7 separate regions of the Homo sapiens genome follow, and regions 1, 2, 3, 4, 6 and 7 are each linked to region 5. The links are contacts of gene promoters, found by promoter capture Hi-C in human tissues and cell types (Jung and others, 2019). All regions are on one chromosome and are shown on one strand. Each heading gives the region's core, a stretch centred on a gene start or on the middle of the fragment in contact. The rest is flanking DNA. Distances are from core to core; before and after follow the strand shown. Region 1 overlaps SETX (senataxin). Region 2 overlaps SETX (senataxin). Region 3 has its middle 18 kb from the start of SETX. Region 4 overlaps SETX (senataxin). Region 5 holds the start of RAPGEF1 (Rap guanine nucleotide exchange factor 1). Region 6 overlaps NUP214 (nucleoporin 214). Region 7 overlaps SETX (senataxin).

Region 1 (2,868 bases), core at 114-2,613, 530 kb after region 5:
AAAACAAGCTTATCTAGATGGTCCCACGAGCTGGTCATCTTCAGTTTACAATATGCTGTGGCTGCTGGCCCATGTCACTGGGCTTTCCTATAAAAGCTTTCTTTTCTTGGAACTGCTGTCCTCCTGCTCCAGTGTCCTCTTGTCCCACCTAGAGTTCCTCCTGGTGTGATGGGTCTCGGAACCACACTTCTCCTGCTCCCCTTCACTGAAAGCCCTGGCCTCTCTCCTGTGACAGAGCTCCTCTTCCGGGTCATCACATTTGCTCTGACACGTGGAAGCCTCGGGACTGGCAGCTGGAGGTTCGCCCCGCACGGGAGGTTTGTGGCTGCTCAGAGCAGCCACTACAGCAGCGGGCTGCTGTATATGGCTCAGGTCCTGGTGAACGACAGGGAAGCCCGGCTCGCCCGTAGGAGGTGTTGCTCCAGGATGCTGGGGGCTCGAGGGTTGTGGATCCCAAAGGAATATTCCTCCTTTGACCTCAATGCCCATCCTCTTCAGCAGTCGTGGGTCCTGAAGTTGGTCATGAACAGGAGGTCTTTCAGGGTCCTTTGAAGTAACAGTAAGAGTAATTTCCTTGGAGTCAGAGGGTGTGTGGTATAGAGAAGCAGCAACAGATGTCTTGGCAAATCCACTGTCTAGCTTGCTGCTGGGCAAACCACCCTGGGGTCTGGACCCCTCTGGGGCTATGGTAGGAGGGTGAGTGAGACTTCTCTGCAGCACAGGCTTGAGTTTCAGAATCTTCACTGCATCATGTCTATAGTTTTTGTCACAGGTCTTAATAATGGCACCACGCTTCTGAGCATCCTGAATCAGCTGATTCCAATGCTGGTTTTCCTTGAAACAATGAGAAGGGAGAAATAATTACACCCCAAAGAGACACTGCTTGGGAAGCATAGAGTTCCAGCTTTCATTTCTGAACAAATAATACATATTATTGTATGAACATATTCTCAAGATTCATTACTCGTCAGACAAGGATGAAAGGAAAAAATAAATTCAAATAAAAAATGATAAAGTCCCATTCCTAAAAATAAGACCTGGTCACAACCTATAATGGAGAACTTCAACTTTTGTTTTTTTTTTTTTTTTTTTTGAGACAGAGACTCACTCTGTTGCCAGGCTGGAGTGCAGTGGCGCGATCTTGGCTCACTGCAACCTCCACCTCCCGGGTTCACGCCATTCTCCTGCCTCAACCTCCCGAGTAGCTGGGACTACAGGCACCCGCCACCACGCCCGGCTAATTTTTTGTATTTTTAGTAGAGACGGGGTTTCATCATGTTAGCCAAGATGGTCTCGATCTCCTGACCTCATGATCCGCCCGCCTCAGCTCCCAAAGTGCTGGGATTACAGGCAGGAGCCACCGTGCCTGGCCGAACTTCAGCCATTTTTATCAGTGCATTCAACTGCAACGCAGGTCTGCACTAGTCACTAGGAGCATCATGTTGCTATTTATATTTCAATAAATTAAAATAAAAAATTCTGTTCCTAAATTGCATCAGCCACATTTCAAGTACACAGCGGTCACACACGACTAATGGCTATTGTACTGAGCAGTGCAGACACAAAACATTTCCGTTATCACAGAAAGGTCCTTTGGACATTGGTGATCTAGAGTACTGCCTACACCTCTTGGCAGGGCTAACGTTCTGAAACAGGAAGGTCTGGTTTCAGAAAGCAAACTTCTGAGTGCATGTGACTATTCTAGAAAAAGGCCCAAGGCTTTCACTGGATTTCTAAAGGCCTCCCAAACCCCGAATGGCTAAAACATCTTCATCCACCGAGATCTCAAGATATCATCTCACTTTCTGCCTGTTTCCTACAGGAGCTTAAGATATTAAATCCCATCGGGAAAGTTGCCAAACACATGCACCTCTCCTCTCTTCCCGAGTTTCTTCAGAGGAGGCTGCTGCTTTACAACCACTAGAATTCGGGTCTCTTTAGAAAGAAGAAAGAAAAGAAGAAAAAGGATAGCTACCCTCTCATGGGGGCTCCTGTACTGTTCATAAAGGTATGTTAGGGAAGCAGTGAGGCTGCACAGTATTTACTTGCTGTGTGACCTTGGTCAAGTCACTTGACCTCTCTGAGCCTGTTTCCTCATCTGTAAAATAGGAGTAATATTTTATTTAATGGATTCTAAAGTGCACGTTGCTTTCACATTTTAGCATTTCTGACCTTGGGGAGCCTCTTGGCCATGTACCTATCCTTGGAAATTACATGATGAGGCAATTATAACCCTTAGACTTTTAGTCAATAAACCATTTAAAAATAATGCCTGAAAACCTTCTACAGACATTTTCTGATAAGACAAGATAACACCAGCATTAAAACTTATGCACTGGGCCAGGTGCAGTGGCTCATGCCTGTAATCCTAACACTTTGGGAGGCTGAGGCGGGCGGATCACCTGAGGTCAGAGGTTCAAGACGAGCCTGGGCAACATGGTGAAACCCCGTCTCTACTAAAAATACAAAAATTAGCCAAGTGTAGTGGTGCACAGCTATAATCCCAGGTACTTGAGATGCTAAGGCATGAGAATCGCCTGAACCCAGGAGGCGGACGTTGCAGTGAGCTGAGATTGTGCCACTGCACTCCAGCCTGGGCAACAAGGTGAGGCTCTGTCTCAAAAAAAAACCCCCAAAAAAACCTTATACACTGGAGATAAAGGGTTCTAAGAAATCCTGGAGACAATGGTGTAACTCTTAGCAAATGCTAAATTGCCAACCTTATTATTGCACTTGGGATGAATGACAACACTGATGACTATGGATTGGGAAGTGATTCATTCGTGCTAAATTCTGAAAGTGAAATATTTTTAGGAATATCTTAACCTATTATTTTACTTGTATTTTCTATGTATGGATAAGAATATG
Region 2 (3,037 bases), core at 34-2,533, 560 kb after region 5:
TCAGGAGATCGAGAACATCCTGGCCAACACGGTGAAACCCCGTCTCTACTAAAAATACAAAAAATTAGCCGGGCATGGTGGCAGGCATCTGTAGTCCCAGCTACTCGGGAGGCCGAGGCAGGAGAATGACGTGAACCCAGGAGGCGGAGCTTGCAGTGAGCCGAGATCACACCACTGCACTCCAGCCTGGGTGACAGAGCAAGAATCCATCTCAAAAAAAAAAAAAAAAAAAAAGGCCAGGTGTGGTGGCTCACGCCTGTAATCCCAGCACTTTGGGAGGCCGAGACGGGCGGATCACCTGAGGTCAGGCGTTTGAGACCAGCCTGGCCAACATGGTGAAACCCCATCTCTACTAAAAATACAAAAATTAGCCAGGCGTCGTGGCAGGCGCCTGTAATCCCAGCTACTTGGGAGGCTGAGGCAGGAGAATCGCTTGAACCTGGGAGGTGGAGATTGCTGTGAGCCAAGATTGCGCCATTGCACTCCAGCCTGGGCAACAAGAGTGAGACTTTGTCTCAAAAAAAAAAAAAAAAAAAGCAAAAAAAAAAAAAAAAACCAGCAGGCATTTTTATAAATGTTGACAAGTTGATTCTAAAACTGATGACAATAAAAAGAAACTTTTTACAAAGAACAAAACTGAAAGGCTGACTATCCAATTTCAGTATTTTTTATAAAACAACAATAAGAGACTGTGGTATTGGTGGAAGGCAGCTATACAGATAAAGAAAACGGTGTTTAAAAGCAGACCTGCAATCAAGATCAACTGATATTCCGACAAATATGCCAAGTTATTGAATGGCAAGGTTATTCAATGAGAAAGGCTACATTTTTTTTAACAAGTAACACTAAAACTGAGCACCTATTTTTACATTGTTTTTGATTTATTTTTTTAGAGATTGGGTCTTGTTCTATCTCCCAGACTGGAATGCAGTGGTATGATCACAGCTCACTGCAGCCTTGAACACTTGGGCTCAAGAAATCCTCCTGCCTCAGCCTCCCATGTCACTGGGACTCTAGGTGTGTGCCACCATGCTCAGCTAATTTTTTTTTTTACTTTTCTGTAGAGACAGCGTCTTGCTATGTTGCCCAGACTGCTCTCAAACTCCTGGCCTGAAGTGATCTTCCTGTTTTGGCCTCCTAAAGTGCTGAGATTACAAGTATGAACCACTGCGTCTGACTTCTACCTTTAAAAAAGCAAAAAAAAAAAAAAAAACCCTTAATCCTTACATATGTCATATATAAAAATAAAATTGAAATGGTCATCAACATAAACACAAAAATTAAACCATAAAATTTAGAAAAAAAAAAATAGGAGAAAACTGTGACCGTGGGTTAGGTAAATGCTTCTTAGGATACAAAAAGCATTTTGATGGGATGCCATCAAAATCAAAACTTTTGCTCTTCAAAAGATACTGTTAGGAAAATTAAAAGGCATTCCACAGATTAGGAGTAAATATTTTCAATATATAAATATAATAAATAACTTGTCTCCAGAATATATAAAGAACTGAAAAATAAGGAAAAATAAGAGGACAAACAATCCAACTAAAAATGGAAGATACATGAAGGGGATATGTACATTGCCAGTAAGTCTGTGAAAAGATGCTCAACATTGTTAGCCATTCTAGAAAAGTAAATTAAAACCACAATGACATACTACTACACACCCGTCTGAATCACCAAAATTAAAAACACCACATGGGCGCAGTAGCTCACGTCTGTAATCCCAGCACTTTGGGAGGCCGAGGCGGGTGGTTCACCTGAGATCAGAAGTTCGAGACCAGCCTGCCCAACATGGTGAAACCCTGTTTCTACTAAAAATACAAAAATTAGTCAGGCATGGTGGGGCGCCTGTAAACCCAGCTACTTGGGAGGCTGAGGCAGGAGAATTGCTTGAACCCGGGAGGCGGAGGTTGCAGCCACTGCACTCCAGGCTGGGGCAACAGAGCAAGACTCCGTCTCAAAAAAAGAGAGCTCAGGAGCCTCAGCCAGCTCCAAATCTACCAGGAGAAGGGTAAGACGAGCTCAAGTGTGAAAACACTAATGCAGCACCCTGACAAAAATCAGAATACAGCATACAGCACAGGGTATTAATGGTCCATGGGGTTTGAACTGGCAGTACTTGAAACTCAAAGCTTCTGAGGGACAAGAGAAGAAGGGAGAAGTACCCTTTTATAACTGCATACTGTAGGTAGAACCAAAAGGGGAGAAAATTTAGGGTCCTGCAAGACCCTCAAAAGTGGAACAAACTCTGGACTTCACTACACTTGCAGAAAAGGGTGTCACTGAACTTGTAATTGTGTAAACCATCTCATTACCTCAGAAATAGAAATAAAATTAATAAATCCATATGTAAAGATTACAAAAAAAAAAAGAAAATGGAGATCCAACATACTAATGAAAATTCTCAGCCTGGGAGTTTGAGGCTGCAGTGAGCTGGGATTGCGCCACTGAACGTCAGCCTGGGCGACAGAACAAGACCCTGTTTCAAAAAAAAAAAAAAAGAAAGAAAGAAAAGAAAAAGAAAATTCTCCCCAAAACCACAACCGGGAAGGAAAAGAATACTGAATTAGGCTGGGCGCAGTGGCTCGCGCCTGTAATTTAGGCACTTTGTGGGGCCAAGGCAGGAGGATAACCTGAGGTCAGGAGTTCAAGACCAGCCTAGCCAAAATGGCAAATCCCCATCTCGATTAAAAATACAAACATTAGCCAGGCATGGTGGCACATGCCATAATCCCAGCTGCTTGGGAGGCTGAGGCAGGAGAATCGCTTGAAGCCAGGAGGCGGGATGCAGTGAGCTGAGATCACACCACTGCACTTCAGCCTGGGTAACAGAGTGAGACTCCATCTCAAAAAAAAAGAAAAAAAAGAATACTGAATTAAACATATTAGCTACTTATTTGGGGATATAAAAAACTATTTTGGGCCAGGCGCAGTGGCTCACGCCTCACCTGTAATCCCAGCACTTTGGGAGGCCGAGGCGGGCGGATCACGAGGTTAGGAGATCAAGACCATCCTGGCTAACATGGTGAAACCC
Region 3 (3,033 bases), core at 233-2,732, 630 kb after region 5:
AAAGAAAGAAAGAAAGTTATTTGTAATATAATAGATTTCAGGTGTAATACCTGAGTGGAGATAGTGAGTAGGCAGATGAATTTTTTTATCCTGGAGTTCGGGGGAGAATCTGACCTGTAACTATACACTTGGGAGGAGGGATCAGCATATACACATTATTTCAAGGCATGGAGAGAATGTGAAGAAGCCCAAAATTGAGCTCTGAGGAACACTAACTTTTCAATGTTGAGTGCAGCGGGAGGAGTGTAGCAGAAACTAATTGAGTCCATATATATATACATATATACACACATATTTTAAATTAAGATGAGTTACACTAGAGCCTGTTTGTATGGTGTTAATGGTCCAGAACAGAAGGCTGACAATTTAGGAGAAGGATCAACAAAATATCAAAATCTCAGAAAATGCAGGTGGTAGCCAGGCACTCACACCTTGTAATCTCAACACTGGGAGGCAGAGGTGGGAGGATCACTTGAGCCCGGGAGTTCAAGACCAGCCTGGGCAACATACGGAGACCATGTCGCTACACAAAAATAAAAAATAAAAATTAGCTGGTGTGGTAGCACATGCCTGCTGTTGTCCCAGCTACATGGGAGGCTGAGGTGGGAGGATTGCTTGAGGCCGGGAGGTCAAAGTTGCAATCAGTCGTGATGGTGCACTCCAGCCTGGGCAACACAGTGAGACCCTGTCTCTTTAAAAAAAAAAGGAAAAAAAAAGCAGGGGGATGGGCTGCAGGAGCTTAGGTGTAGGGATCGGCGTAAGTGTGGCTGGAGGTAGGTTTGTCTGCTTGGTGGAGGGAGGAGGGAGCTTATGTCTTATGGCTTCACTTTCCTAAGTGGATTATACATGAGGCAGAAAGGGAGTGTGAGAGGGCTGACTGTGCACGTGAGCTGATGTGGGGAAAAGCAAAGCAAGCCTACTAGAGATTCAGAGTAGCATCCTTTGGTAACATTGTGTCCGTTTGAGCTTTATCATCATTAAAGTGAAATCTGCCAGCTCAGTTGTAATTTTCTTCTGGGAATATTCAGCTCTTCAGGTGCAGGTAACAGGCAAAGGGAAGGGCTCACCCAGATCTGGTGTCTTAAACAGGGAAGTGCCTCAGGGGGAGAGAATGCCAGGATGGAGGGTGTTCAGGAAGGTGATTGTGGCAAGGGACCATGTGACAGCCTGGGTAAGCTGGGAGTGACCTGATAGCACCGAGGGAGGCTGAGAATGCCTGCTCATGTATTTCAGGAAATAAACAGGAAATGGTGTTCAGGAAGTGCTGGACTGTGTAGCCTCCAAGAAAGCAGGCCCCAAGGCTGTACTGTCAATGCTTGTTTTTTGTTTTTTTTTTTTTGAGACGGAGTCTCTGCCGCCCAGGCTGGAGTGCAGTGGCGGTATCTCGGCTCACTGCAACCTCTGCCTCCTGGGTTCAAGTGATTCTCCTGCCTCAGCCTCCCGAGTAGCTGGGATTACAGGCACGCACCACCAGGCCCAGCTAATTTTTGTATTTTTAGTAGAGATGGGGTTTCACCATGTTGGTCAGGCTCGTCTCGAACTCTTGACCTCCCGATCCTCCCGCCTCGGCCTCCCAAAGTGCTGGGATTACAGGCGTAAGCCACTGTGCCTGGCCTGTCAATGCTTGTCTTTTTAGCTCCTAACAGTACCTGGCTCACTGCACGTGTTCACCAATGTTTGTTGAGCTGCACTTGTCAAAGTGAAGGTGGTGCTATGAAGTCAGTGGATGTCTTGGTCTGGCTAAGATGCTAATTTCTGACCTACTTGGTATCTGCCATGCTGGGCCACTTTGTTGGGTAATGAAGTCCATCAGTGAAGACAAACAGCTGAAACACATGACTAGGGACAAGGACAAAATGACCAAGAACTGAGCCAAGAACTCGAATAATGCATAGTCAAGGCTGTTTAAAAACAATTTTATGGGCCAGGTGCTGTGGCTCACGCCTGTAATCCCAGCTACTCTCAGGAGGCTGAGGCAGGAGAATTGCTTGAACCCGGGAGGCGGAGGTTGTAGTGAGCCGAGATCACACCACTGCACTCCCGCCTGGGTGACAGAGACTCTGTCTCCAAAAAACAAACAAAAACAAAACCAATTGTACATGTTCCACAGCCTTAGTTCTTGTGAGGTGGGTATTGTCTTTCTCTTTTTACCTTTGTTCGCTTTCTGAGTCACTTTCTTTAGTAAAAGGTGAGATTTATAGGATCTGAAACCAGAACATTGACTCACTTTTTTTTTGAGACAGTCTCACTCTGTCGCCAGGCTGGAGTGCAGTGGCGTGATCTCGGCTCACTGGAACCTCCGCCTCCCAGGTTCAAGTTATTTTCCCACCTCAGCCTCCTGGGCAGCTGAGACTACAGGCGCAGACCACCACACCCGGCTAATTTTTGGTAGAGATGGGTTTTCACTATGTTGGCCAGGCTGGTCTCGAACTCCTGGCCTTGAGTGATCCACCCACCTCAGCCTCCCAAAGTGCTGGGATTACAGGCATAAGCCACCATTGCCCAGCCTCTGTTAATTTTTTTTTTTTTTTTTTGACACAGGGTCTCTGTCACCCAGGCTGGAGTGCAGTGGTGTGATCTCAGCTCACTGCAACCTCTGCCTCCCAGGTTCAAGCGATTCTCTTACCTCAGCCTCTCAAGTAGCTGGAATTACAGACACACGCCACCATGCCCAGCTAATTTTTTTTTGTTTGTTTTTTTTTTTTGGTAGGGATGGAGTTTCATCATGTTGGCCAGGCTGGTCTCAAACTCCTGACCTCAAGTCATCCGCCTGCCTTGGCCTCACAAAGTGCTAGGATTACAGGTGTGAGCCACTATGCCCGGCCTCTTCAGGCTTTGATGTATCTTACCAAATTGCCCTCCAAAAGGAACATAAAATTTATATTAAGTTCTTCTCCATTTGAAATATCTCGGGTGGTTTTGCTTTCCTGATTGATGGAATAGCCCACCATTGAAATTATCTTTGAATATCCAACAGGAGTTGTGTGTTGACACTGACACATTTTTTTTTCTTTTCTTTTTTTTTAGGAGTCT
Region 4 (2,800 bases), core at 87-2,586, 540 kb after region 5:
CGCGGCTGAAACACAGAATATGATTTAAGCACATTAAAAATTTTTATCCAGGGTTTGATTTGGTCAAAGTAGATTACAATCCTTCCTGTAGTCAGATATATGTAGGTAGGTATCTGAAGTAGAGATGTAATAATTCTGAGTTGTGAATTATATGAGTAAAACCAGGGGTGGAATTCAGCCTGAATGTACATTTTTCTGTTAGTTTTTAAGTATATAATATTGCCCTGTCTTTTTTTAGTGCTTTTGCTAGTACTAACAAAAATGCCTGTGAACCTGACAAATCCTCTATTTCCACAGTAAGGAACAGTCTGGTCTCCCTCTCTAACGCAGTGTGCTGTGATGGAGCCGGACGTGAGTGACGCCTCACAGTCACACCTACACTGCTCAGTCAATCAGCATTTCCAGCAGAGATTCAGTTTGCTGCTTTTTGCTACTAAGAAGTAGTGGTGATTCATCTCAGCACATACGATATATTCAACCATGGAATTCAAGGCATTCGTGTGAGCTTTAGGAAGAGGGTGGCACTGTGGTCCTCCACGGCTCACACAGTAAAGCACTGTCAGACACTGTCCTCAGCCACCTAGTGAGTACAACTGCTGAGCATAGTTTCATGGCCCACAGAACACATGTGATGAGCAGCAAAAAACATCTGTGAAGATGGACTTCATCCTTGACTCAGGAAAGATTAATCTGGGGTTCTGTTTAAAATCTGATTAAAATCTGTTTAATCAAAAGCTTTCACATAACTTTTAGTTTAAATAAACTGCTAATGAAAATATGCATTAAATTCAACTATATTTTAGTCACATAGAGAAAGATCATAATCCATTCAGGAGGAAACTTCAGCAAAAATACTACTAACGTCATCAGTTACTATTACCCTCTTTCCCTGACCCCAGTGTGGTTTGATTAGGGCTGCATTCTGACAATCAGGGTATACACCTGGCTCGGCCAAGCTTCAATGAGTCTAAATCTTACAGGATATTTTCACATCCAAAAAATACTGGAGAAAAGCTACAAAATGTTACAGGAGTCTTATGATCCAACACAAGTACAGGGAGTTTATGCTCTAACCCAAGAATTGCAAAAAACAAAAACCAAATATCAAAGTGCTGTACTTTCTTTTGCCGAATTCTGCCCACCATCACTCTACTTCTATCCAGGTTGGAGCTCTGGAGGGCTCACAGTTGCCACCCTCATCCTAAAGCTCATACAGGTGACTTTTTTTTTTTAATAGTGAAAACACCCACAAAGCTATTTTTTTTGTTGTTTTTTTTTTTTGAGACGGAGTCTCGCTCTGTCACCCAGGCTGGAGTGCAGTGGCGCGATCTCCACTCACTGCAAGCTCTGCCTCCCAGGTTCACGCCATTCTCCTGCCTCAGGCTCCCGAGTAGGTGGGATTACAGGTGCCCACCACCACGCCCAGCTAATTTTTTGTATTTTATTAGAGACGGGGTTTCACTGTGTTAGCCAGGATGGTCTCAATCTCCTGACCTCGTGATCCGCCCGCCTCGGCCTCCCAAAGTGCTGGGAGTACAGGCGTGAGCCACCGCGCCTGGCCAAAGCTATTTTCATTAACTGTTTATCTGATGATAATTATCATAATTGTTTTTTGCAGTTTATGGGAAGCAGAAATAGAGCACCTTATAAGAAAGAATTTAAATATTTACCAGACTTAAAACAAAAAAGATAACTTATAACCACCTCTTAGAAATCTTAGATGGTGGTAAGAATTCATTCTTAGGTTAAAGAAAAAAATGCAAATGTTGTTACACCATTTTCTCCACTTCCACAGATGTTTGTAATTTTTCATAACAATTTAAAATGTAACTGAGAAAAGCCCATAGCTGGCCAGGCATGGTGGCTCACGCCTGTAATGCCAACACTTTGGGAGGCCGAGACGGGGGATGACTTGAGGTTGGACGTTCCAGACCAGCATGGCCAACATGGTGAAACCCCATCTCTATTAAAAATACAAAAAAAGGGCCAGGCATGGTGGCTCACGCCTGTAATCCCAGCACTTAGGGAGGCCGAGGTGGGCGGATCACAACGTCATGAGATGGAGACCATCCTGGCCAACATGGTGAAACCCCATCTCTACTAAAAATACAAAATTTAGTCGGGCGTGGTGGCGCACACCTGTAGTCCCAGCTACTCGGGAGGCTGAGGCAGGAGAATCACTTGAACCTGGGAGGCAGAGGTTGCAGTGAGCTGAGATTGTGCCACTGCACTCCAGCCTGGCAACAGAGTGAGACTCTGTCTCAAAAAAAAAAAAACACAAAAGAGGCCAGGTGTGGTGCCTCACGCCTGTAATCCCAGCACTTTGAGGGAGGCTGAGGCAGGAGGATCATGACGTCAAGAGATCCAGACCATCCTGGCCAACACGGTGAAACCCCGTCTCTACTAACAATGCAAAAATTAGCTGGGCGTGGTGGCACACGCCTGTAATCCTAGCTACTCGGGAGGCTGAGGCAGGAGAATCGCTTGAACCCGGGAGGCAGAGGTTGCAGTGAGCCAAGATCACGCCACTATACTCCAGTCTGGTGACAGAGCAAGACTTCACCTCAAAAAAAAAAAAAAAAAAAAATTAGCCAGGCATGGTGGTGCACGCCTGTAATCCCAGCCACATGGGAGACTGAGGTTGCAGTGAGCTGAGATCATGCCACTGCACCCCAGCCTGAGAGACAGAGTGAGACTCTGTCTCCAAAATAAATAAATAAAAGCCCATAGCTTGTCTGAACAGTCATACTTAAATTTTAAAAAGAAAAAAAAAAAAATCAAGAAAATGCTACAGGTGAAC
Region 5 (3,013 bases), core at 317-2,816:
CCCCTGAGAAAAGCACCCTGGCTTCTGGTCAGAGGGCCAGGAATGAATATACTAGGGGCCTGCCGCCCTCTTGCTGTCTGGACAGCCGGAACTCACTGAACCTCTCTGAGCCTGTAAAACTGGGACCATATTCTTTCCCACAGACTAGCTTCAAAAATTTAAGAAGCAATGCATTTTAGGTGCTAAGAGTTAGATATATAGTAAACCCTCAATAAAGCCTACAAAAATGTCCTTCTGTGCTTCAACCACAGCCTGCAAAAGTCATATTGCCTTGTGGGTCCGCTGCAGGGGTGCACCCCACAGAAGTATCCCAGATTCAACCCAGGAAACATAAGCAACTTCCACAATCAAAGCCACAGACCTCCTTTGCAGCTCCCTAAAAATCTGCTTTCCCTCATTCAGCCGCCAAGCTAACCTGCTACCGGGGTTATGACCACAGGGCATGCTCCCAGTACAGGAGCCCAGGAGCACCCGCCCACTTCACCTTAGACCCAAGAATTCGCATTTGCCCTGCAAGGTGCTGCAGGCTAATAAAGCCTGGGGCCCCACAGGCTCGACAGTCATTGAATCTTTGGAGACTCTATTTCCAGGACAGGCAAACCCAGGGACTCGGAAGGTAACTCCCCCAGATTTCTAGGAACACACAAAGAGACGAGGTCTGCATCAAGATTTACCATCTACTCCAACCCACCGGTCCCCCACCTGCCCTCCTTGCAGAGCTGAGCTTGATCGGGGTGGGGAGGGGAAACTTGACTACCTCCTCAAAATACCCCCACTCATCCAGCCTGCTTCCTTTGAAGCAACCGAAGTGGACGCTTCTCGTTAAACTCGAAGCTCGTTAGAAATGACACATTTTACAGCTCAGCTGGGTTCACCCTCCTAGCGCCGAGCCCAGGCCGGGCACCGATCGCTGCAGCCGCAGCAGCACGCGGCCCGGGCTGTTCTTCCCCTGCTTGGGGCTCGAGCCATTTTCGGAAGTTCCCGGGGACCGCGGAGCGGCTAGCGCGCCCGGCCCCGGGTTGCAGGGGCCCCGCCCGGCCCGGCCCCTGGCGCCCCCGCAGCGGCCGCTTCCCCCCGCGCCCGGCAGGCAATGGGCCTGGAGGAGAAGCTGCCAGGCGCCCCGGCGAGGCCTCGGTGGCTTCACCCCGCCCCGGCGCACGGAGGGCCGCACATCCCGGGCGACCCGCGCTCGGCCCGGGGAGCGGCGGAGCCCCAGGGCCGGGCCCGGCCGGAGGGAGCCGCCCCACGCCCGCGCCTCACCTGCTTTCTCGATCTTGCCGGACATTTCCGGGCTGCGCCGGAGGCCGAGGCCGCCGCTCATCGGGCCCGGGCCGGGCCGCCGCGGGGCGACAGGGGCGGCGCGCCCGCCGCTCGCCTCGGCCCTGGCTCGCCACGCCTCAGACCCGCGCCGGCATGGCGGGCTCCGCGCGGCCGCGGCCCTGCGCTCGGCGACCGCGCTCCAGCCCGCCCGGGCCCAGCCGCTCCCGCCGCGCCCGCCGCCGCCGCTCCGCCTCCCGCGCGCCCGCCGCCGCTCCCCCGGCCCGCGAGCCGGCCGCAGCGCAGCGACGCCGCCCGCCCGCCCGCCGGGCCTCGGCCGCGGCCACGGCCACAGCGCCACCTGCCGGGCGCCCGCCGCGCCGCCACAGCGCCCCCTGTGGGCCCGGAGCCGCCCGAGCCTCCCGCGCGACGCGCGAGACGCAGCGCCCCCTGCCGAGCCGGAGTCCCCACGCCGGGGCCTGGGGCCTGGGGTGTGGGGCCGACCCCGCCTGGGACTCCGCATTCCTCTGCTGTGGGACCAGAGTCACCAGCTCCAGACCTGGGACTGACAGCTCCAACCCAGGGTCCTCGGTTGCCCAAGAGCCTGGCCTGCCCCCTCACCAGAGACACAGAGAACCCTCCTGGGTCAGATTTTCCACCCCAGGACGTGGAACTGACGCCCACCCCACCCTAGCATCATCCCGGACCCAGCATCCCCTGTGGGCCAGAGGCTCCACACCAGGGCCTAGAACTCACTCTCACCAGGACTCAACAAGCTCTGCTGGCTGGGAGCCTGTCCTGACCTCCCCCAAACCAGAGATGCAGCACCCCCTTTTTTGTTTTGTTTTTTGTTTTTGAGACCGAGTCTCACTTTGTCGCCAGGCTGGAGAGCAGTGGCGCGATCTCGACTCACTGCAACCTCTGCCTGCCGGGTTCAAGCAATTCTCCTGCCTCAGCCTCCTGAGTAGCTGGGATTACAGGCACATGCCACCATGCCCAGCTAATTTTTGTATTTTTAGTAGAAACGGGGTTTCGCCATGTTGGCCAGGCTGGTCTCGATCTTCTGACCTCATGATCCACCCACCTTGGCCTCCCAAAGTGCTGGGATTACAGGTGTGAACCACTGCACCCTGCCCGCACCCCCTTCTTAATTGGAGACCCCACACCAGGGCCTGGGAGTGGCCTCATAGCACCTCCTGCCAGCCCAGAGGCTCCAGCCGGGGAATGAGTCCACTCTGGCATGAAAGCCCTCTGCTGGCCCAAGGTCTATGCCAAGGCGGAGGATTCATTCTCCACCCCAGCCCTGCATGTGGGACTCAGTCACCCTGCCAGCGAGAGCCACCTGTCCCGGGCTGGGGTTGGCCCTACTCAGGCCTAAATGTCCCCTGAGGCCTAGAGCCTCCATGCTGGCCTGGGCCCAACTCCCTCAGGGACACAGCACACCCTGCCTGCCCTGCTTATTTGACATCCAGAAGGGCACCCTGGGGCTCAGCTGTGGAACTTTTCTAGTGTGGAAATGAGTTCATTAAAAGTCGTGGCTGGGCACGGTGGCTCACGCCTGTAATCCCAGCACTTTGGGAGGCCGAGGCAGGTGGATCACGAGGTCAAGAGATTGAGACCATCCTGGCCAACATGGTGAAACCCCATCTCTACTAAAAATACAAAAATTAGGTGGGCATGGTGGCACACGCCTGTAGTCCCAGCTACTTGGGAGGCTGAGGCAGGAGAATCTCTTGAACCCAGGACATGGAGGTTG
Region 6 (2,799 bases), core at 150-2,649, 600 kb before region 5:
TCCTAGTAGCTGGGACTGTAGGCATGCGCCAACACGCCTGGCTAATTTTTGTATTTTTTAGTAGAGACAGGTTTTTGCCTTGTTGGCCAGGCTGGTCTCAAACTCCTGACCTCAGGTGATCCGCCCGCCTCAGCCTCCCAAAGTGCTGGGATTACAGGCATGAGCCACAGCTCCCGGTCTGGTGATAACTCTTGATCTTCCACTTTGTGAGAGGAATGTCTTAGCACTCCCACCCTTTCCCTTGGTAGCCTTCCAGTTGTTATCTGCGTCTTCTCTTTTGTAAAATTGCATTCTGTCCTACAATGATAAGTCATCTTTATCTTGTCTGTAGACTGTTTTTAAAAGTTGAGATTGTTTTTGTTTAATATGAACGTGTCTGTTACCTGCTCCATAGCTAAGTCACATAGTGTGATTTCATTCCCTCTCCTGAACTGCCTGCCTGCTTGCTTTCTTGCTTGCTTTCTCTCTCTCTCTCTTTTTTCTTCTTCCTTCCTTCCTTCTCTTTCCTTCTCCTTCCTTTTCCTTCCTTTCCCTCCACTCCCCTCTCCTCCCCTCCGCTCTCCTCCCCTCCCCTCCCCTCCCCATAACCTAGGCCAGAGTGCAGTGGTATGATCTCGGCTCACTGCAACCTCTGCTTTCCGGGTTCAAGTGATTATCCTGCCTCAGCCTCCCAAGTAGCTGGGACCACAGTTGCACACCAACACGCCCAGCTAATTTTGTATTTCTGGTAGAGACGGGATTTCACCATGTTGACCAGGCTGGTTTCAAACTCCTGACCCCAGGTGATCCACCTGCCTCAGCCTCCCAAAGTGCTGGGATTACAGGCATGAACCACTACATCCAGCCTGTTTTTCTTTGTTGGTCTTTAAGCACTATTCCCCTGTGATTCATGCTTCCCAGTCTGGTCAACACTGAAAGTTAGGCAAAATGTTAGTGATTTTAAAAACCAAGAGTCATTTGTTGGAAGGAACAGAGCCTATCCAAGCACACTTAAGCAAAAAGGGAGTTTACTAGAAAGACTTAGTAGTTTCTCAAGGAATCTGGGGACAGGAAAGCTGACCAGCCTGAGGAACTGGTACCAAGAACTGGGAAGAAGAACTAAGGTTATCTCTGTCTCTATAGACGAGTGAGCGCAGGGCATCTGAGCACAGACCAGCCTTACATGCTTCTCTGTGAAAGACTGCAGTAGAGATCAGCTGGAGTTCCTGGCCCCAATCCAAAATGTCTAGGAGCAGGTATTGACTGGCTTAGTGCTGCTGTTGGATTTGTCCCTCATGGTCAGCAATCTCCCTAGTTGTCATGGAAGGTACCTCAGAAAATGTTCATGATAGTGGTTATTTATTTACAAGGCAGAGGCTTGATACACCAGGAACAGATAGAGAGGGGGTTGATTTGGAAAATTAACTTCCCATTTGCTGGGGTACTTCTGGCTTTTAGGCCATCTTCTCAGATTTCAGAGCCTCCTAGTCAACACCTGAGTCTAAACCAAGTGAGTCATCTCTGTTCTCCTATTTGAACAATGTTAGGAGGAACCAATGCAAAGCTCTAACCAACATGGCTTTTTCTTTTTTCTTCTTCTTCTTCTTTTTTTTTTTTTTTTTTTTTTTAGATTAATTGGGAATCTTGGCTACTGGAGGATTCTAGTCGAGCTGAATTGCCTGTGACAGACAAGAGTGATGACTCCTTGCCCATGGGAGTTGTCGTAGACTATACAAACCAAGTGGAAATCACCATCAGTAAGTGTAGCCTGGTAGTTAGTGCAGAAATAGTCTTCTTTCTAGTTAGGGTTAATATTGAAACACCAGTTACATGTTACTGACAGAGTCTACTCTGCTGGGCACTTGTAGCTTCTGGCAGCACATTTCTCCCTGAAGAGTGATAACAGGCTGCGTTGTGACAACACTAAACTGATTTGAATGGATGTTCGTTGATGAGACCAAGGCCAAACACTGTATGTATGTGTGGGTGCATGTTTGCACACTTGCACATGTCTGGGTGTACTTTAGAATCTGGTTGAAATATAGAACATCAGGATTTTATGGCTTGGTTTCTTTGTCCAATCCAATTCCCTGGTGACCTCCCAAAGAAGCAATACCCGAATCTGGTACTGCACACAAGTACTTGGTTTGAAGGCAAGGATTAGAAAATAGAGACCTCAGGCCCATGGTTTCCAAATAGGGCCTAGATATGTGTTTTGAATAGATCTTCCCTGCAGTAGCTTGGCTATACTGTAGTCATTGAAATGTAAAAGTGCCACAAAAGAAACAGTCTTTGCCATCTGGTACTTAAGTTTAGAGAGGTGTCCCCGTCAGGCACCATTAAGTTGCTTGCTCCTTCCCTGGTTAGGCAGGAGTATTTGTTCTGATAAGCTCATTTGCTCTGATTCTCTTGAAGCCTTAACTGATAAAATACATACTTGTCATTCAGCTGTGAATGAGGATAAAGTGGTTTGACTCATCTTTCTGTGTCCTACTGTCCATTCCAAAGAGTCTAGTCTCATTTTCCTACTAACCTAAGTACTTCTTAGATATTCTTCTCTTGGTCAGGGGAATGCCAAGCCTACCTCCACTGAGGTACACAAGCCACTGAGACACTCATAAAAACTGAGGGACCTTTGGGAGAGTCAGAGCTACTGCGGGACTGATGGAGCTTCTAGGCAGGGCCCAGCAGGGTGGTGGCGATCTGATAGCGGCAGGAACTCTCTTTAAATAGCTGGTGCACGAAAGGCTGTTCAGATATAAAATCAGAACAAACTAACTTGAGCTGCTATTCAGATGAGTCCCTTAAACCCTCTTCATG
Region 7 (3,013 bases), core at 514-3,013, 590 kb after region 5:
TCACTCAGCAAGGTAAAGAGGTAACTTGAAAAGTTTGGAGAGGCATACAAATGAAACACATACTTACTGTTTCAAAAGTATTCAATACCATCAAAGGGAAAAAAACATTAAAATAATCTCCATAATTGTGAAATCTGACAGGCACAGGTCTTGAGATGGACTGACAAAGACTTGCAGGGGGCCCACACTGACCAAAGTTCAAAAACATTTCATATTTCCATTTTAAGACCTCTTTAACGAAGGTGTCAGAGACAGACTGTGATGACAAAAGAATGTTTACTGGAGAGGAAGATGGAAAATATTTGCTTTCACCAAATGGAACTTTGCAACCTTGCCTGTTGGAATTATTCGGAGACTGAGGATGAAGAACATTGCACGAATTCTTCATTTCACCAACTGGCTTCTGAGCTATGAGGGGAACTGGCTGTGGTACTTTCAAAATCGACTGTATCCCCTTTGACTTATTTTTTAGAGACGGTGAAAGTGCTGAAGAAGTTTCCAAAGATTTAGAAAGACCAGCAATTCGTGAAGTACTCTTTGAGCTAAAAATCTTAGTGGTAGGTCTCAAAGGTTTAGATGCAGGAGGAGGCAAGCCAGGTTTACGAAATACATCTTCATCTGCTGCTTTCACTTCAGAGTGTTTTGGGCAGTATTCACCCTGGTTTTTTGTGGTTTCAAGACAATCTTTGTACTTACACTTTGTGCCACTCAAAGATTCCAACTGAGGCCGACTTACAGAATCTTCTTCAACCTCAACTGTATCTTTTCCATGAATTAGTTCAATGAGTTTATAATTGTCATTCTCCATTTGTGAACATAAATCCATATCTTCAGGATCATTTTGGGTTAAAAATAAGTTATCTTCCTCTGCATCACTGCTGGAGTCAGGCTCTCCTTCTTTCAAAGCTGCCATCTCTATATGACGTGCTGTTGGATCACCTCCACCCAGAGGGTCTTCTGAAGTGGAGACAATTACTTCATTTGTTGGTACTGTTCCATTTAACACTACAGAATCACACTGGTTCAAAGGGCAAGCATCATCAGTTGCTGGAGACCCATGTTTTGCTTTTATGGTTTCTGGTTCAGAAGGCATGCATTTTATTAACTGTTTTCTGTTACTGTTGGCAAGTACCTCAGTTCCTCCTGTACAATTATAATCTGACCTATCAGATTCTGGTACAAATATGTCAGAATTCTGTGCTGTATGTGACCCTGCTCTTTTAACATCTGTACTTTCACAATCAGAAAGTCTTCGTCTATTTTTTTGTGATTTGGGTCTGATCTGCCTTTGCATCTGAAGTTCTTGACTAGTCAGAAGTTTCTTATTATTTCTGACAGACAGGTTCTGAGGAGAAATTAATTTAGTCTTTTTTCGGGTATCAACTACTCCAACAGTTTTGCCATGATCACGTAATTGAGCTACATAATCCAAAGACCGCTGGGACAACTCATATGCCTTACGAGGACCCTTTTTCAGGCCAAGTTTCTCAGCTGTTGAAGTTGGCTCAGGACACTGACGAAATTTCTTTGGCGGCACTATAGCAGGAGTTGTTCTACAACTTAGGTAATTTGAACTTCTATTCTGTCCTTTTTTGGCATCTGAATGAGTTTTCTTAGGGGTCTTAGAAACTGGAACTTTCCTGATGGGTTCTGTACAAGTACAAAGCTTTGAAGACTTCTTTTGTGAAACCGTAGTGGCTCTCTGAATACGTGAATTGGGAGTTGAAGTCCTTCTATCAATACTTTTAAAATCATTTCCCACAAGATCTCTCTTATTAGTATCAGACTGGCCCTCATTTCTGACAGAAGATGAAGGCCTCACAGGATCTTCAGCCATTGGTTTTTCAGATCGTTTTCTCTTAGGCTTTTTTACTTCAATTTCACAAAATTCTTCAACAGAAATACTCCGTGGTCTTGTGTGTTCTTCAATGCCCTCTGCTCCTTTTTTAACAACTTCAGATACATAATCTGTACAACCCTGACCATTTGTAGTATTGGCTATAGGAGCCAAACATTTTTTCTCACCATCTTGAACTGAATTATTATCGTCTGGATGATCTTGCCAAACTGAAAACACTTCAGATGAACTTTCAAACTCAAAACACTGAGAATCAGATTCCTCAAACTGAAAAAGAGTCTCTGTCTTTTCTTCCTTTACTGGATTCTTTTCCTCCTTACTATTAACTGTTGAAACGTGCTGCTCTGGATGTTCCCTCTCAAGGCATATTTTGTCCTGTTTAGTGAGTTTCTCAAGACTCAGGATTCTTTCATCATCATCATCATCAGAATCTGAAATAATAATAACCTGTCCACGGGAGGTATCTCCAACATTATTTTGGTTAGCTGTGAAACATCTTTTATCTTCTTTTACTTTCCTTTGCAGCTGCGATGAGTTCTGAGGTGAATCGGATGGGAACGTAATAACACTGGCTTGAGCTAGTAAAGATAATTTGTGAAGGTCTCTGTCTATCTGAGAATCCGTTAAGGTGTCAGATTTAGGACTGATGTCAGGGGCCTGTTCTCTTGTCAAGTTAGAATAAATCACACTGGTACTATTACTCATCTCCTCATCTCTTGATTCAGGTACAGTCATAAGATCTTTAAAGGGAGATGATTTCTTCTCTGAAGCATTGGTCATTTCTGTAAAAGGGATCAATTCTTTACCATCAACATGAAATTCCTGTATTTTACAATTGTTTTCATGGAAAGAGAAAATAACTAATTCTTCATTCTTTAATTGTTTCTCTTTTGGCAATACATTGTTTTGAGATTTTTGTTCTCCATTCTTATCATCCAGAACACCACTAGGGTCTAAAGAAAGATTGTGTATGAAACCATCTCCTTTCTGAACTCCTGTATCTTTCCTTGAATAGAAACTCTCAATGTTAGATACAGTCAAATTTTCATCTAAATTGATAGTATTATCGACCAAAGTACTCTTCCTGTGTTGCTTCTTTATTACATGTGATAACTTTGCACAGATTTCATCTTTCTGTACCTTAGTTTTTCGTTT

What was found. Contacts are between HindIII fragments. The study calls those that stand out against the background at their distance.
Region 1: a fragment that was not itself captured here is called in contact with the fragment with the promoter of RAPGEF1 in region 5 in 14 of the 25 tissues and cell types used here (H1 embryonic stem cells, IMR-90 fibroblasts, adrenal gland and 11 more).
Region 2: a fragment that was not itself captured here is called in contact with the fragment with the promoter of RAPGEF1 in region 5 in 1 of the 25 tissues and cell types used here (dorsolateral prefrontal cortex).
Region 3: a contact is called between a fragment that was not itself captured here and the fragment with the promoter of RAPGEF1 in region 5, in 1 of the 25 tissues and cell types used here (spleen).
Region 4: a contact is called between a fragment that was not itself captured here and the fragment with the promoter of RAPGEF1 in region 5, in 1 of the 25 tissues and cell types used here (lymphoblastoid cells).
Region 6: a contact is called between a fragment that was not itself captured here and the fragment with the promoter of RAPGEF1 in region 5, in 2 of the 25 tissues and cell types used here (dorsolateral prefrontal cortex and spleen).
Region 7: a contact is called between a fragment that was not itself captured here and the fragment with the promoter of RAPGEF1 in region 5, in 2 of the 25 tissues and cell types used here (dorsolateral prefrontal cortex and lymphoblastoid cells).

What each region holds. Positions count from the first base shown.
Region 1 is chr9:132,264,152-132,267,019 of GRCh38, forward strand. It overlaps SETX (senataxin), which reads right to left. Exons shown (of 26, transcript NM_015046.7): 26 at 1-834. The coding sequence ends at 88. Among named protein-coding and RNA genes, the nearest start is that of SETX, 89 kb to the right of the region's middle. The HindIII fragment of the contact is 6,889 bases long and covers 1-2,868 here.
Region 2 is chr9:132,302,144-132,305,180 of GRCh38, forward strand. All of the region lies in intron 11 of SETX (senataxin), which reads right to left. Among named protein-coding and RNA genes, the nearest start is that of SETX, 51 kb to the right of the region's middle. The HindIII fragment of the contact is 5,071 bases long and covers 1-3,037 here.
Region 3 is chr9:132,371,700-132,374,732 of GRCh38, forward strand. No RefSeq gene overlaps it. Among named protein-coding and RNA genes, the nearest start is that of SETX, 18 kb to the left of the region's middle. RefSeq lists an enhancer at 1,043-1,337. The HindIII fragment of the contact is 6,869 bases long and covers 1-3,033 here.
Region 4 is chr9:132,283,616-132,286,415 of GRCh38, forward strand. All of the region lies in intron 18 of SETX (senataxin), which reads right to left. Among named protein-coding and RNA genes, the nearest start is that of SETX, 70 kb to the right of the region's middle. The HindIII fragment of the contact is 4,353 bases long and covers 1-2,800 here.
Region 5 is chr9:131,738,510-131,741,522 of GRCh38, forward strand. RAPGEF1 (Rap guanine nucleotide exchange factor 1) reads right to left here and starts at 1,567. Exons shown (of 27, transcript NM_001377935.1): 1 at 1,261-1,567. The coding sequence starts at 1,321. RefSeq lists silencers at 951-1,280, 1,331-1,380, 1,531-1,790. The HindIII fragment of the contact is 28,094 bases long and covers 1-3,013 here.
Region 6 is chr9:131,137,672-131,140,470 of GRCh38, forward strand. NUP214 (nucleoporin 214) reads left to right here. Exons shown (of 36, transcript NM_005085.4): 10 at 1,610-1,736. Among named protein-coding and RNA genes, the nearest start is that of NUP214, 13 kb to the left of the region's middle. The HindIII fragment of the contact is 6,143 bases long and covers 1-2,799 here.
Region 7 is chr9:132,326,257-132,329,269 of GRCh38, forward strand. It overlaps SETX (senataxin), which reads right to left. Exons shown (of 26, transcript NM_015046.7): 10 at 68-3,013. Among named protein-coding and RNA genes, the nearest start is that of SETX, 27 kb to the right of the region's middle. The HindIII fragment of the contact is 3,756 bases long and covers 1-3,013 here.